Regions from separate parts of the Homo sapiens genome. Here all the other regions are linked to region 4. Evidence: promoter capture Hi-C in 16 types of primary human blood cells and fetal thymus (Javierre and others, 2016). All regions are on one chromosome and are shown on one strand. The core of a region is centred on a gene start or on the middle of the fragment in contact, and the rest is flanking DNA. Distances in the headings are between cores, read along the strand shown.

Region 1 (2,700 bases), core at 149-2,648, 440 kb before region 4:
CTGCACTCCAGCCTGGGCAACGGAGTGAGACCCTGTCTCACAAAAAAAAAAAAAAAGGAGAAGAAAAAAAGTGAACAATTCCTGTGCATAAACAAATGTCTGCTCCAAGCCTCATGAGCTATCTTGCCCTCCCAAGCACCTGCAGTGCTTGGCATATGCTGGCCACCAATAAGTGGTGCTCTTGGGTGGTTGTGAAGATAAGGATCTTTGCAGGGAAGCAGGGACCCTTTAAAAATCAACATCCAAAGCCTCAACAGATACATCAGCGCCCCTTTCCAAATCATGACTTTTCCTCAAAAAGCAAAAACTCTACTCAACATATCCTTCCACTGGGGGTGGAGATAAAAACACAGAAAGTTCTCTTTCCCTGAGGGTAAACAGCTACCAACAGTCAGTCATGCCTGGATGCACAACCTCAGGGGTGGGCCCCTCCTGGATGCACAACCTCAGGGGTGGGCCCCTCCCCAGGAACGAGCCCCCAACTCTGCCTGCAGTTCCTAGGTCTGCAGAGGTCACCATGGGCCTGGCAGGGCTCTGCTTGTCTAGCTTTGGGGCTTGCAGGAAGAGAGCTCCTGAACCAGATCCAGGGATTAGCCTGGGATGTGGCGGGGTAGGCTTCTCTGGGGCTGGGGTTTCCCTTCCAATGAAAGCTCACAGAGAAATGTCCCTGGGCTTACAGAGGCCATGGCTGCGAGAACTCGCTGGTTGTGAGATCCAGAAAGAGCAGAGACGCGCTCTTCTTTTCTGACTTTCAACCTTCCCTGGGGTTGTGTTCCATTTGGGTCACCTTAGAAAACTCTGGTGCTTCTAAGAGAACATCAGCGCTAGTCTTGGTGCTGGCAGGAAGCTGCCCTTAGCTGTCACCAACACTTTTTTCTTTCTGTTAGTCCACAAAGCATTACCTTACCTCACCGGTCCTCCAGAGAACATCGGGGCTGCCTAGAATGTGGTGACAGGAGTGAACTCTTAATGGAAAGGGGTTCTGGAGGGAATGTTTCTGTGCCTCTCTGCCCTAGTTGGTGAATTTAGCAGTTTAACCTAAATACAGTTGTTCCTGGATAGACCTTCCTCCAAGCAGGTGCTCTAGACCATCTTTTGTCTCGGGCTTTATGTTGGACGTTAGAGCTTTATCTTTGTGATGCCTTTGTAGGTTTCTCTGGATACTGACAAGAAACTTCATTTGATCTAATGAGAAACTTCTCACTAATAAAGGCAGGAGCTGCTTTTGACACATATGCATTAATATCATCTTTCTATTCTTACCATTTTTTTTTCCTGTTTTTGAGAAGGAGTCTCACTCTGTCACCCAGGCTGGAGTGCAGTGGTGAGACTTCGGCTCACTGCAACCTCTGCCTCCCAGGTTCAAGCGATTCTCCTGCCTCAGGCTCCCGAGTAGCTGGAACTACAGGCACGCACCGCCATGCCTGGCTAATTTTTGTATTTTTAGTAGAGACAGGGTTTCACCATGTTGGCCAGGCTGGTCTCGAACTCCTGACCTAAAATGATCCACCCACCTTGGCCTCCCAAAGTGCTGGGATTACAGGTGTGTGCCACTGCACCTGACCCTTTTCTTACCATTCATTCTAAGCAAATCCATTTGTAGAAAATTTTAAAATTTGTGGCAGTTAACGATGTGGGCTTTTACCCTATACAGTGACCCAGACTCTTCAGTGCAGGTAACTCCACATCAAATCTTCCATCAGAGATAAGACAGCTGCCAGCCCCTGATCTCCAGGTGAGGGCAAGCCCTCTCTCTACAAGGAAACTCCTCCTTTGGGCGGGGTTGGGGTGAGCAAAGAGAGCCACCCACATTCTCATCACACATGTGACAAGACCAATATTACTTGGCTGACTTGAGCCTTGTGGCTAAACACATTGCCTACCCCCCTTGAGATGGCCATCAACCTGTGACATCCTACTTCCTACAACAGCTACATCAGCCCAGATGTCAGACTCCATCCAGGCCAGCGGCTGCCTTCTCTGGCCATCAGTTGTCCCTCTAGCTCTGTCTAGACCTCCCTATTGTTTTGAACTGAGGCAGATTTCCTGCCTCCAACTGAATATCCCCTGGCAGTTTCCCATTTTTGTATTTTCCACCTTGTCATCTACTTAGGAGAAATTGAGTATCTTCCAGGGCCAATGCAGCCATTTTCCTGTCTCTGGAGAATCAGGAGGGAAGGCAGGGCTTGATGGGATGGGGCCATCTTGGCAGACAGCATTGCCTCGAGAACATGGGTTGGCCTCTAGGGAGGGGAAGTGGGCAGGCTCTGCTAGGCTTAGTCAAGTTAAATATTATCTTGGTCAGTGGCTCAATGGATATAGTTTCCCCATTTCTCACATCTGTGCTTCCCTTTTTTTTTAATTAATTATTTTTTTATTTTAAGATGGAGCCTCGCTCTGTCGCCAGGCTAGAGTGCAGTGGTGCGATCTCGGCTCACTGCGACTTCTGCCTCCCGGGTTCAAGCGATTCTCGTGCCCCAGCCTCCCGAGTAGCTGGGACTACAGGCACATGCCAGCACACCCAGCTAATCCTTTTTTTTTTGTATTTTTAGTAGAGACGGGGTTTTGCCATGTTGGCCAGGCTGGTCTTGAACTCATGACCTCAGGGGATCCACCCACCTTGGCCCCAAAGTGCTGGCATTACAGGTGTGAGCCACCACACCCAGCCATGCTTTCTCTTTTTAATTTTATTTATTTTGA
Region 2 (2,700 bases), core at 55-2,554, 260 kb after region 4:
AATCTGGAAGCCCCAAATACCTGATTTGCGGATAATTCTGGTGCATGCTCTTCCTCTTTGTTTACTAAGGGGCTGGACTGTTGTTTAGGTGGCTCGGCTTTTGATCTAGCCAAACTTAAAAATTCACTAATGGAATCTTCTTTCTTTTCGTGTTTAGAGGTATCCCATCTGGATGGTTTTCTTGATTCTGAAAGGCAGGACATAGATATAAACTCCAGCATTAGCAAGGAAAAGGCCAGTTCTTCACCACTGCTCTTTCATTCACTCAGAATGTCAGCGTGCCTACTAGGGGCCTGGCACTGTGTAGGGTCCTGGGGAGGTAGGTGGCAGAGGCAGAGACAGAGCCCCAACCCCAAAGAGTAAACATCTGGACCATTACAACATGAGCTAAGTTATTAGTAAGAGTAATTCCCTCAATGGAGGGAGAATATGCACCATTCACATTGTTAGGACTAAACTACCCTTTAATTCTGTCTTCCTACAGGCTAGGGGTTGAGGCCCTGGTCAATCAGAGACCCCGGGGACGCCCTACTCACTGTCGGGACCTCGGTGCTGTGATACTTTTTCACTTGATGCTTGAGTGGTGGGCAAGGAAGCTGTCTCTGGGAGCGTCAGAAAGTTGAAGACTGAGTACTTGTCACGCTTCACTCTTGGTAAGCCAACTAAAGTTGAACTGGGAATTGAAAAAAGAATCATTTTAGTAACAACCAGTAGGACAAAATCCACCTCCTGAAAAGCTTTCCATCTCAAGTTTTCCACCTCTTCTGCATGACTAAAAAGTCTCCTAAGATGCTTTCACTTCTCAAAGCAGTTCGAGAATCTGGGTGACTGATTTTAGGTCCCATGAGATTTTCCTTATTATGATAAGGACAAGAATTTAACTTTCAAAATGGATTTCCATTAAGGAAAAGCTCCACTGATAAAAATATACCTAAAGTTTCTGACAGTCTCTGGTTTGACCACATATGCTATCTTTTTGTTTTGTTTTTTTTTCTCTTGAGATTGAGTCTCGCCTTGTCACCCAGGCTAGAGTGCAATGGCACAATCTTGGCTCACTGCAACCTCCGCCTCCCAGGTTCAAGCAATTCTCCTGCATCAGCCTCCCAAATAGCTGGGACTATAGGCACGCACCACCACGCCCAGCTAATTTTTTGTATTTTTAGTAGAGACGGGGTTTCACCATGTTGGTCAGGCTGGTCTTGAACTCCTGACCTCAAGTGATCTGCCTGCCTCAGTCTCCCAAAATACAGGGATTACAGGCGTGAGCCATTGCACCCGGCCTACTATCTTGAAGTGTTCTGTTTGTTTGTTTGTTTGTTTGATTTTTTAGAGATGGGGTCTTACTATGTTACCCGGGCTGGCCTCGAACTCCTGGGCTCAAGCGATCCTCCTGCCTTGGCCTCCCAAGCTAGGATTACAAGTGTGCACCACCACACCCCACCTCTTGAAGTGTTATTAATCAAATAAGAAAGTGTTTAACTTTTATAATGATAATTTAAAAACATAAGTAACATTATAAATGTAAACCACATGAGCAGCAACAAGAAGGTGGCAAATGAGAGAGGCATAATGCTTTTGTAACTTGACATATCTGAGTTTCATAGCTTCAATATGGAATAAAGTTTGCTATCCAGATTTTGTTTTAGTAACAAATTATAGAAGTAATTTATCAAAGCAAATCTATAAAATGTGTAGATTTGTATATCCAGTGATATGCAAATAAGTTCATGTAGAAAAAATAAGAATTTATATGAGTATGTAAGGGGAAAATTAGCTTTAATATCAAGAATACATTTTGTACTGATGTAAAGGTTTATCCAACTTACTCTGGATAAGGGTCAGGGACATTAAATCTCTTACATAGAAGCTTGTCAGGGTGCCACTCAAACGTGTCTCGGGTGAGCTTCCCAAACATCTTCATCTTCACAGCCGACTGCTTATCCCCGACATCATTCTGGAAAAAGACATGCATTCTGTTCCATCAAGTGGCCGCACCACTGACCTGACTGCTCTCCCATTTAAAATTTTCAAGCAATCTTCTAGAACTGTGAAAAAAGTTTGTGCTATAACATTTATGCTCCAGTACATTGGAAACTAAGGCATAAAATGGTTTCCTATTCTCCTATACATGTATATTTTGATCTTCTCACCAAGGGATTAAAAATATTTGGCTCGGCCGGGCATGGTGGCTCATGCCTGTAATCCTAGTACTTTGAGAGGCCGAGGCGGGTGGATCACCTGAGGTCAGGAGTTCAAGACCAGCCTGGCCAATATGGTGAAACCCCATCTCTACTAAAAATACAAAAATTAGATGGCTGTTGTGGCGAGCGCCTGTAATCCCAGCTACTTGGAAGGCTGAGGCAGGAGAATCGCTTGAACCCAGGAAGCGGAGGCTGCAGTGAGCCGAGATCACACCACTGCACTCTAGCCTGGGCGACAGAGAGAGACTCCGTCTCAAAAAAAAGGAAAAAACTATTTTGGCTAGGCAGTGCTTTAATATTAAAGTTCACCAGGTAAGGGACATGGTGACAACAGACCTCTTGGTCTCGAGGGACTTCAACCTGATCTGAGTCATCCTCCTCCTTGGCGTGAGTGAACCTGGAGGACAAGGTCGAATGGGAAGATGCGTACAGCAGGGCCGCCCGGGCAAACTCATCCCGCTCACGGCCTCGCTCCCACTCTGTCATGCTGGGGTCCAGA
Region 3 (2,751 bases), core at 180-2,679, 290 kb after region 4:
AGCCTCCCAGAGTGCTGGGATTACAGGTGTGAACCACTGTGCCTGGCCCCTTTCTCAACCTTTTGTAAGCCGAGGGTAGAAGAAGGGCCAGTATCCAGCAGAAGTTTCCACCAGAACTGTTTGTAGGAAATAAAGGGGGCATAAGTGGAGATATCCCAGAAGTACAATCAACCTGGCAGGATGTGGTCAGGGTGAAAAAAGGGAGGGGACCCCCACCAACAGGAGGTCTGCAAATAAATTGTGGCCCAATGATTCCACCATTCTTCCTCTGCCTTCCCTACAGGGCTAGCACAGCCAACAGCCCTTACTGGACACTCAATACATAACTTGCTGAACAAGTCAAGTCGTTAAGTGGAACAGACCAGAAACACAGGAGAGAACCTTGATTCATCTTGCCCCTCACCCCCACATTCCACCAGCAAGTATGGTCAGCTCTGCTTTCAAAATATATCTCCACCCAGACCACTACACACCACCACCACTGCTGTCCCATCCATGCCACCATCATCTCCTGACCTCTTTTTGCTAATCTCCCTGCTTCACTCTTACCCATCCCCAACCAGTGTATTCTCAACATCAAAGATAGAATAACATTAAAAATTGGCCGAGCACAGTGGCTCAAGCCTGTAATCCCTGCACTTTGGGAGGCAGAAGCGAGAGGATCACTTGAAGTCAGGAGTTCAAGACCAGCCTGGGAAACAGAGCAAAACCCTGTCTCTAAAAATCATATATATATCCCTCCCTGTGTAATTTCCCATGACCCTAACCCTAACCCTAATCCTGCACTTAGTACAAGATCCAAACTCTTTACCCTACCAAGTAAGATCCAGCCCCTGTCAGCCCCTCTGACATTCTTTTCTACCTGTCTCCCCCGCTGTCATCTGCTGCAACCATACCCGTCCTGCCTGCCCCTCAATTTCCTAAACTGGCTCCCACTTCAGGGCCTTTGCCACTTTATGTTCCTTCTGCCTGAAATGCTTTCCCTCCAGATTTGCTCATGGTTGTTTTCTTCCTCGGTTTCAAGTCTGAGCTCAAACGTCCTCTCTCGGGGAAGACACTGCCTGAGCACCCCCCGCTCTCACACTAGCTATTCCGTCATTTTCTTGTTTCTATCTCGCCGCCCCCTTGTTCGGCCACGCTTGTGTCTCCCGTCCCTGTAAACCTCTCTCTGTCGCTGCAGAAGGTGAGCACCCCGAGAGCGCGGCTAACGCCTCCCTCGTCGCCGTGTTCCCAGCGCTGGGAACGATCTAACAATGGTCCAGCACCGACTTGTGCTTTTGTGGCCCGAATCCTGGGCCCTTGGCCTGTTTTCCACAGGCTCCGCCGGCCCACGCGGCCCGCACCTTCTTCCAGAGGCTCCAGCCCGGTCCCATAGCTGACCAGATCTTCTTCGCTGTCACTGTCCCGCGCCGCCATCCTGCTCTTCCGGGCCCCGCCCCCTCGCTACGGCGGCCTTGGCAGGCCAAACGCCTTTCCTCTTTCTCCTCCGCGAACCCCGGTGATGCTGGAAGGCTGGGTCCGCGGGCGGGGGAAGGTGTCCTAGCGGCCCGAGCCTGCGCTCCGGATTCTCAGGCCCATCCTGTGGTAGGCCGTCCCAGGCAGGAGTTGCCTCGGAGGATTTGGCAGCCACGACATCCCATCCTAGCCCCGCGATGTGCGGGTGAGGAGGAGACTCCTGGCATAAGCTGGAAGCCACCCAACTGTTCCCTGCGAGGCGACACCGATGCCTGCCCAGCCCCCTACCCCCGTCCCTCGCGCCAGCCCCCTGCCTTGGCAGCAGTCACTGCCCAGCCCCGTCCACTCCCACCGCCCACCCAGCCACCTCCAGGGAAATGGCTGAGCTCCCAGATTTCATGCTCGCCCCGTGGGGCTTCGCTTTATTTTTATTATTATTATTTTTTACTTTTATTTTGGGTTCAGGGGTACATGTGCAAGTTTGTTATATAGGTAAATTGCATGTCGCAAGGGATTTGGGTTACAGATTATTTCCTCCCCAGGTAATAAGCATAGTACCCAATAGGTAGTTTTTCCGATCCTCACCCTCCTCGTACCTTCCACCCTCAAGTAGGTCCACCCTCAAGTAGGCCCTGGTGTTATTCCCTTTTTTTTTTTTTTTTTTTTTGAGACAGAGTCTCGCTCTGTCGCCCAGGCTGGAGTGCAGTGGCCGCGATCTCAGCTCACTGCAACCTCCGCCTCCCAGATTCAAGTGATTCTCCTGCCTCAGCCTCCTGATAGCTGGGATTATAAGCGTCCACCCCACCACGCCCTGCTAAATTTTTGTTTGTTTGGTTGGTTGGTTGTTGTGGTGGTTTTTTTTTTTTTTTTCTTGAGACAGAGTTTCACTCTTGTTGCCCAGGCTGGAGTGCAATGGCACGATCTCGGCTCACCTCAACCTCCGCCTCCCGGGTTCAAGCGATTCTCCTGCCTCAGCCTCCCTAGTAGGTGGGATTACAGGCATGCACCACTATGTCTGGCTAATTTTGTAATTTTTTTTTTAGTAGAGACGGGGTTTGTCCATGTTGGTCAGGCTGGTCTCGAACTCCCCACCTCAGGCGATCCATCCACCTTGGCCTCCCAAAGTGCTGGGATTACAGATGTGAGCCACCGCACCCGGCCATTTTTTTTTTTTTTTTTTTTTTTTTTTGTATTTTTAGTAGAGACTGGGTTTCACCATGTTGGCCAGGCTGGTCTTGAACTCCTGACCTCAAGTGATCCACCCGCCTCGGCCTCCCAAAATGCTGGTATTACAGG
Region 4 (2,700 bases), core at 54-2,553:
CAGCTTATCCCAAATACTACTCAAGGGCTAACAGATGACCACATCTTAAATATCAAGAGCTTCTAGGTGTAGAATGTCTTCGTAAAGCAAGCCCTTATAGGATTTTCTTTTAAAATTTTCTCTGGGAGTCACATTTCTTTGGGAGAAGTCTGCCTTAAGTGACAACCTATTCATATAAGCAGTCAATTCTGACACAACTACCAATTTTGGTGTCACCCATCAACATTGAGACCTTTCTAAATCTTATACATTTCAGGATGCCAGATTACAGTATAAACTTCAAACAAGAGGAAAACCCAACACGTAAACCTGCGGAAGAGAAGCAACACACCAGCTGCCCTGGAAAACACTCTCCTCCCCCCGCGACACATGCATTTCCATCCTTCGCATCTGGTCACCTCCGCTGGCTGTCGGCCCTGCTCCGCTCCCTCCAACTATGCCTGCGAAGTGCTTCATTTCTTCTCTATTCGACCCGTAGGTGTTGCGTGTTCTTCTAAACTACGTTCAACAGTAAAGTGCAGGACATTCCAACAGCTCCACAAAGAAGCAAAATATTATCTCTGCAAAGTCATGCATTTAAAAACCAGTTGCTTTCCCTATTTTATTGATCAGTCTTTGAACTTCTGAACAGATTTTCGATCACCGCAAGCTGAGCCCTTCTAGAAGATCAGGATTCTAAAGCTCGACTCGGTCCACCTTCTGCTATTCTGGGAACACCCTTCATCCCCAGGGGCCAATGCGAGCCTGGCGGGTCACAGCGCCCGTTTCACCGAGAGGGGGCCGGGCTCCGCAGGGGGCATTCCCCGGCCGTTCGCGCGCTCCCGGCCCGCCGCGAGGGGCGCCCCGGGCAGCGCGGGGGTCGACGGGCGGCGCCGCAGCGCTGGGCCGCGGCCAGGAATGAGCTCAGCGTCCCCGCCGGGTGTTGCCGGCAGGTTGCATCAGACGCCGCGCGGCGCCGCCGCCCGCGCCTCCAGCCTCGCGTGGCCTTCCCGGGCCAGCGGGCCGTCTGGGGCCGGGGCTGGGTTTCCCCGAGCCGGGCCCGCACCCAGTCGAGCGGCCGGCGTCGCCGCGGCCTCCTCCTCCCCGTTCTCAGGGCGCCCGCCGCAGCCTCCTTACCTGCTCCTCTAGCCCGCCTGCCCCCAGGCGGCCTCCACTCCGAGCGGCCCCGCGCGGTGCGGCCCGAGCCGACCCAGGCCTCACAGCCCGCGAGTCAGCGAGGAGGAGCGACGGTTACGAAACCGGCAGCCTCCGCCCGTTCCGCAGCCGCGGCCACCGGCTTCCCCTGCTCGCCGGGGCCGCGCGCGCCGCCGCCGCCATCCCGGCCAATGGGAGCGCCGGCCTGCCGGAGGCACCGCCTTCTCTCGCGACGGGCAGCCCAGTCGACCAATCGTGGGCAGGCTGGCGGCGGGAGGCGGGCCCACGGTGGGGGAGTGGGTTCCGCGCGGCTGGCTCGGCGGGTGTGGCGGGAGCAGGGAGCTGCTTGCTGCGGCGTCCGCGGTCCCTAGGCAGCTCGCCCGGGCTGGCGGCGGCCTAGTGCTGTGGACGACTCAAGTTCGAGTCGGAGGCTGAAAAGCCGTCACCTTGTGGAGGCCAGACGTGCCTTTGGAAGCATTTTCTGAGGTGGTTTTGTGAACCACCGGCGACTGTTTTGGTTTCGCCGCGTCCCTTGGAAGCCCCCGCGGCGTCCCTCACAGAGTTTCTGCGAACGGAACGCCCCGCAGGCGGGCGGGCTTTGTCGCCGCAAAAAGAGTGGAGGCTGACGCGGTGGCTCCCGCCTATAATCTCAGCGCCGAGGGAGGCCGAGGCGGGAGAATGGCTTGAGCCCAGGCGTTGGAGAACCAGCCTGGACAACATAGCGAGACCCCATCTCAGTTACTAATTTTTAAAAAATCGAATGAACCCAGATGTTTCACACATAGGATTAGCATTGATGTCACATGGGTGAAATCCATGTGCTGCAGGCTGTGCTTTGTTGTTAGGGTGAGATGAAGTGAATTTCTTAAAATGATTCTCTTTGGGTGCCTTCCAGGTGCATGGGTGCGAGGTGATCTCTGAAAATAAGCAGCGATCCAGTGTGACTTAAAACTCGCCAGGAGAACCCGAAAGCGTTTTTTTTTTTTTTTTTTTTGAGACGGAGTCTCGCTCTGTCGCCCAGGCTGGAGTGCAGTGGCGCAATCTCGGCTCACTGCAAGCTCCGCCTCCCGGGTTCACGCCATTCTCCTGCCTCAGCCTCCCAAGTAGCTGGGACTACAGGCGCCCGCCACTACGCCCGGCTAATTTTTTGTATTTTTTTAGTAGAGACGGGGTTTCACCGTTTTAGCCGGGATGGTCTCGATCTTCTGACCTCGTGATCCGCCCGCCTCGGCCTCCCAAAGTGCTGGGATTACAGGCGTGAGCCACCGCGCCTGGCCCCGAAAGCGTTTTAACACCAGGAAGCAGCAGCTCGCTGGGCGGAGGGCAGAACTCGCCTGATAGGTTTAATTGCTTCCTCTTTAGCAACGCGTATCGTTCAAACAATTGAGGCTTTGAAAGAGGAAATGTTTCTTCAGCGCCCATGGAACCGGCTCGCCCCGTAAGATTGTTTCGAGGAATCAGTAAGATGATAAAGCAATAAATAAAAATTAAAAGGGGTCACAACGGTGAACAATGGGCTGGGCGCGGTGGCTCAGGTCTGTAATCCCAGCACTCTGCGAGGCCGAG
Region 5 (2,700 bases), core at 1-2,500, 400 kb before region 4:
CAGAGAGACCAGTGCATCAATGGCCATGCTCTGGAACGCCCCCTCTGCCTACCAAGGAGGCCCATGCCTGGGCTGGGCTCACCTAAGAAGCAAGCTCTGGTGAGGTGAACCTTTGGCCAGAGCAGAATATTCTGTGTCATACCTCATTTGGTCTGCTTTGGGGGAAAGTCGCAGGAGGACAAGGAGATTCCCTTTGGGGGGAATCTATTTAGAAGCTGGAGCCTCCTTCCCCAGTCCCTACCTGGCCACCGAGGAATCAGGGGCTCTTTCTGCTCCAGTACCATGTGGGTGGACATTTTCGTCCTGAGGCTCTGCCAAAAGCCATGGTCACCATCAGAGCCAGCTATCCCTTAAGGAGAGAGCTGGATCTTCTGGCTGGCGCGCCGGGGCACCATGCCCGACCACACCTGAGCAAATCCTGGCTGCTGCCTGCGGGAGGGGGGTTCCAGTGTCCCACCACTTTCCTGGCTGTCTCCACGTCCTGGGCAGAGGTCCAGTGGCAGGAGCCCAGCTGGTGAAGGGATCTCCAGGTCTTCCCTGAGCCAGAGATTCTGTGGATTTCTCCATGAGGTCCAGTTTTACAGACTCAGCCACTGCCATGCCCCAGACAATGTAAGGCTGAGGCCGTGCCCGCACGTCTCCTTCAGTCATTAGCAGGCCAGGAAGGAGATGCAAGGTCAGCCCTGGAATGGACAGCCTGAATTCCCTGAGCTTGCCCGAACCTTCCTCAAGTCCCAAGAGAGGCAGAAATGCAGGCAGAACTGGGACACATTTCATCTTTCTTCCGCTTGTCCCTTTGGGCTGGGAACAAGGGTATGCTCTCCCCTGGGCAAAGGGCAGAGTGTCCCCATCTTCCTGGGCACTCCCAAGCTTATGTGCACATGCGTGCATGTGGGGGATCTTTGAAACAGGCCTTCTAGACTCTTCCCTGGAGACTGAGGGGAAGCTCCAAGTAGACCTGGCTGCACCCTTCAGGGTGTGGGGTGTAAGTAGCAGGTGCCTGGCCTGAGAGAGGAGTCTTTAGAATCAAGCTGCTCATTGCCACCCCCTGCCATGCCCAGAGTCTATTTCCCTCCTTGACAGCCACCCCCTCCTCTTCCCCATCCCATCATTACTGCAGCTGTCCCAGCACGAGCCTCCAGAGCTCCTTTCTCTCCCGCAGCCGATGATGACAGCTCCCTTCACTAGAAGGGACCCGCTGCACCACTTGGTTTTCCTCTACTCTGCCAGATTTCCTTAATTATTTTCTTCTGGTTATGGCAGCTGGCTCTGCTAAACCACCTCTCCTCCTCAGAGTCTCAGATATGGGAAATCACTCTGCTTGTCACTCCTGTCATCTCATCAAGGTGTGACGGTGCTTATATATTCCTTTTCTAAAGCAAATGAGTCATGCCAGATTTGGCCAAGAGTGGGGCTGAGAAGCCACTTCCAAAAGGGATCCTGCCAGTCGGGGGGAAGATGGAAGGCCATGTGCTTGTTGAGGTTGCAGCCCCTGAGGCCATGACCTCCCACTGGCACTGTCCCCACAGCCTCGGAGGGCAGTGGGCTGTGGTCCTGTTCCATTTTACCTGTGAGGACTGGACAGGGGGACACTGTCTCCTGGACCTCTGGACTCTGAGCCTAAGCTTCTGGGGCTGTCCCACTCTAATGCTCGCTGAGCTAGAGCCCTTGGCATTAACTAGAGGAAAAGTTCCTTCTAGACAAAGCCTGGGGCTGGGCGAGTCTCCTGATTTCCTGTTTACATGTGTCCATAAAGCCAACCTGCCTGCAACTTCCTCCTTTGAAAGGAAAAATTGCCTTGTGGAGAGTAAGAGAGATCAGTAACATCTTAAGTAGAGCCTGAGTTTGCCATAAGCTATTCCCAACCCTTAGACTTACGGCAGCTTATCAGGCAAAGATTAGACCTATCCCCACAAGCTCACTTTAACATTTTTAAAAATTTACTGCCGGGCACGGTGGCTCATGCCTGTCATCCCAGCACTTGGGAGGCTGAGATGGGCTGATCACTTGAGTCCGGGAGTTCGAGACTAGCCTGGCCAATATAGTGAAACCCGATCTCTACTAAAAATACAAAAAAATTAGCTGGGTGTGGTGGTGCATGCCTGTTATCCCAGCTACTCAGTAGGCTGAGACATGAAAATTACTTGAACCCAGGAGGCAGAGATTGCAGTGAGCTGAGATCACACCACTGCACTACAGCCTGAGCAACAGAGTGAGACTTTGTCTCAAAAAAATAAAATAAAATAAAGAAAAAGAAAAAAAATTTACATTTATTTTAGAAATAGTTAGAGATGGGGTCTTGCTATGTTGTCCAGGCTGGTCTCAAACACCTGGCCTCAAGAAATCCTCCTGCCTCGGCCTCCCAAAGGGCTGGAATTATAGGTGCGAGCCACCATACCTGGCTACAAGTTCACTTTCGAATAAAGAAGAAACGTAATGAAGGAAATCTAAAGGGACCTCCCCTTTGCCGTGAACCTAGTGTCCCCACTAGGAAGAAAACTGCTCTTCCATGCACCAGTCAGATAAAGGCTGAAGCAAAAACCACTGCTGGCTCTGGGCAAGTGAAAACCAGGAGAAACCTTAGGTATCCTGGGGCAGGGGTCTGCACATCCCCAAGTGGGCTGCACGTCAGGACCCTGGACAGCTCCATCAGCGCTCAGGGAAGTACAGCTAAGGGCTCACGAGGATGAGGAAGGTTTG

Evidence for each region. Contacts are between HindIII fragments. The CHiCAGO score rates a contact against its expected background, and 5 or more counts as called.
Region 1: a fragment that was not itself captured here is called in contact with the fragment with the promoter of CEBPG in region 4 in 1 of 17 cell types (monocytes); the score reaches 6.4 in monocytes.
Region 2: a contact is called between a fragment that was not itself captured here and the fragment with the promoter of CEBPG in region 4, in 1 of 17 cell types (neutrophils). The highest score is 7.6, in neutrophils.
Region 3: a contact is called between the fragment with the promoter of GPATCH1 here and the fragment with the promoter of CEBPG in region 4, in 5 of 17 cell types (neutrophils, activated CD4 T cells, naive CD8 T cells and 2 more). The highest score is 12.3, in neutrophils.
Region 5: a contact is called between a fragment that was not itself captured here and the fragment with the promoter of CEBPG in region 4, in 2 of 17 cell types (M2 macrophages and endothelial precursors). The highest score is 6.6, in M2 macrophages.

What each region holds. Positions count from the first base shown.
Region 1 is chr19:33,816,422-33,819,121 of GRCh38, reverse strand. No RefSeq gene overlaps it. Among named protein-coding and RNA genes, the nearest start is that of KCTD15, 21 kb to the right of the region's middle. The HindIII fragment of the contact is 3,637 bases long and covers 1-2,700 here.
Region 2 is chr19:33,111,740-33,114,439 of GRCh38, reverse strand. GPATCH1 (G-patch domain containing 1) reads right to left here. Exons shown (of 20, transcript NM_018025.3): 12 at 2,538-2,700; 13 at 1,827-1,954; 14 at 537-673; 15 at 21-187. Among named protein-coding and RNA genes, the nearest start is that of WDR88, 19 kb to the left of the region's middle. The HindIII fragment of the contact is 1,130 bases long and covers 740-1,869 here.
Region 3 is chr19:33,079,859-33,082,609 of GRCh38, reverse strand. GPATCH1 (G-patch domain containing 1) reads right to left here and starts at 1,429. Exons shown (of 20, transcript NM_018025.3): 1 at 1,344-1,429. The coding sequence starts at 1,416. RefSeq lists an enhancer at 1,205-1,534. The HindIII fragment of the contact is 10,253 bases long and covers 1-2,751 here.
Region 4 is chr19:33,372,312-33,375,011 of GRCh38, reverse strand. CEBPG (CCAAT enhancer binding protein gamma) reads right to left here and starts at 1,303. Exons shown (of 2, transcript NM_001806.4): 1 at 1,117-1,303. RefSeq lists a silencer at 707-1,516. The HindIII fragment of the contact is 8,186 bases long and covers 1-2,700 here.
Region 5 is chr19:33,767,997-33,770,696 of GRCh38, reverse strand. All of the region lies in intron 3 of CHST8 (carbohydrate sulfotransferase 8), which reads right to left. Among named protein-coding and RNA genes, the nearest start is that of KCTD15, 28 kb to the left of the region's middle. The HindIII fragment of the contact is 755 bases long and covers 873-1,627 here.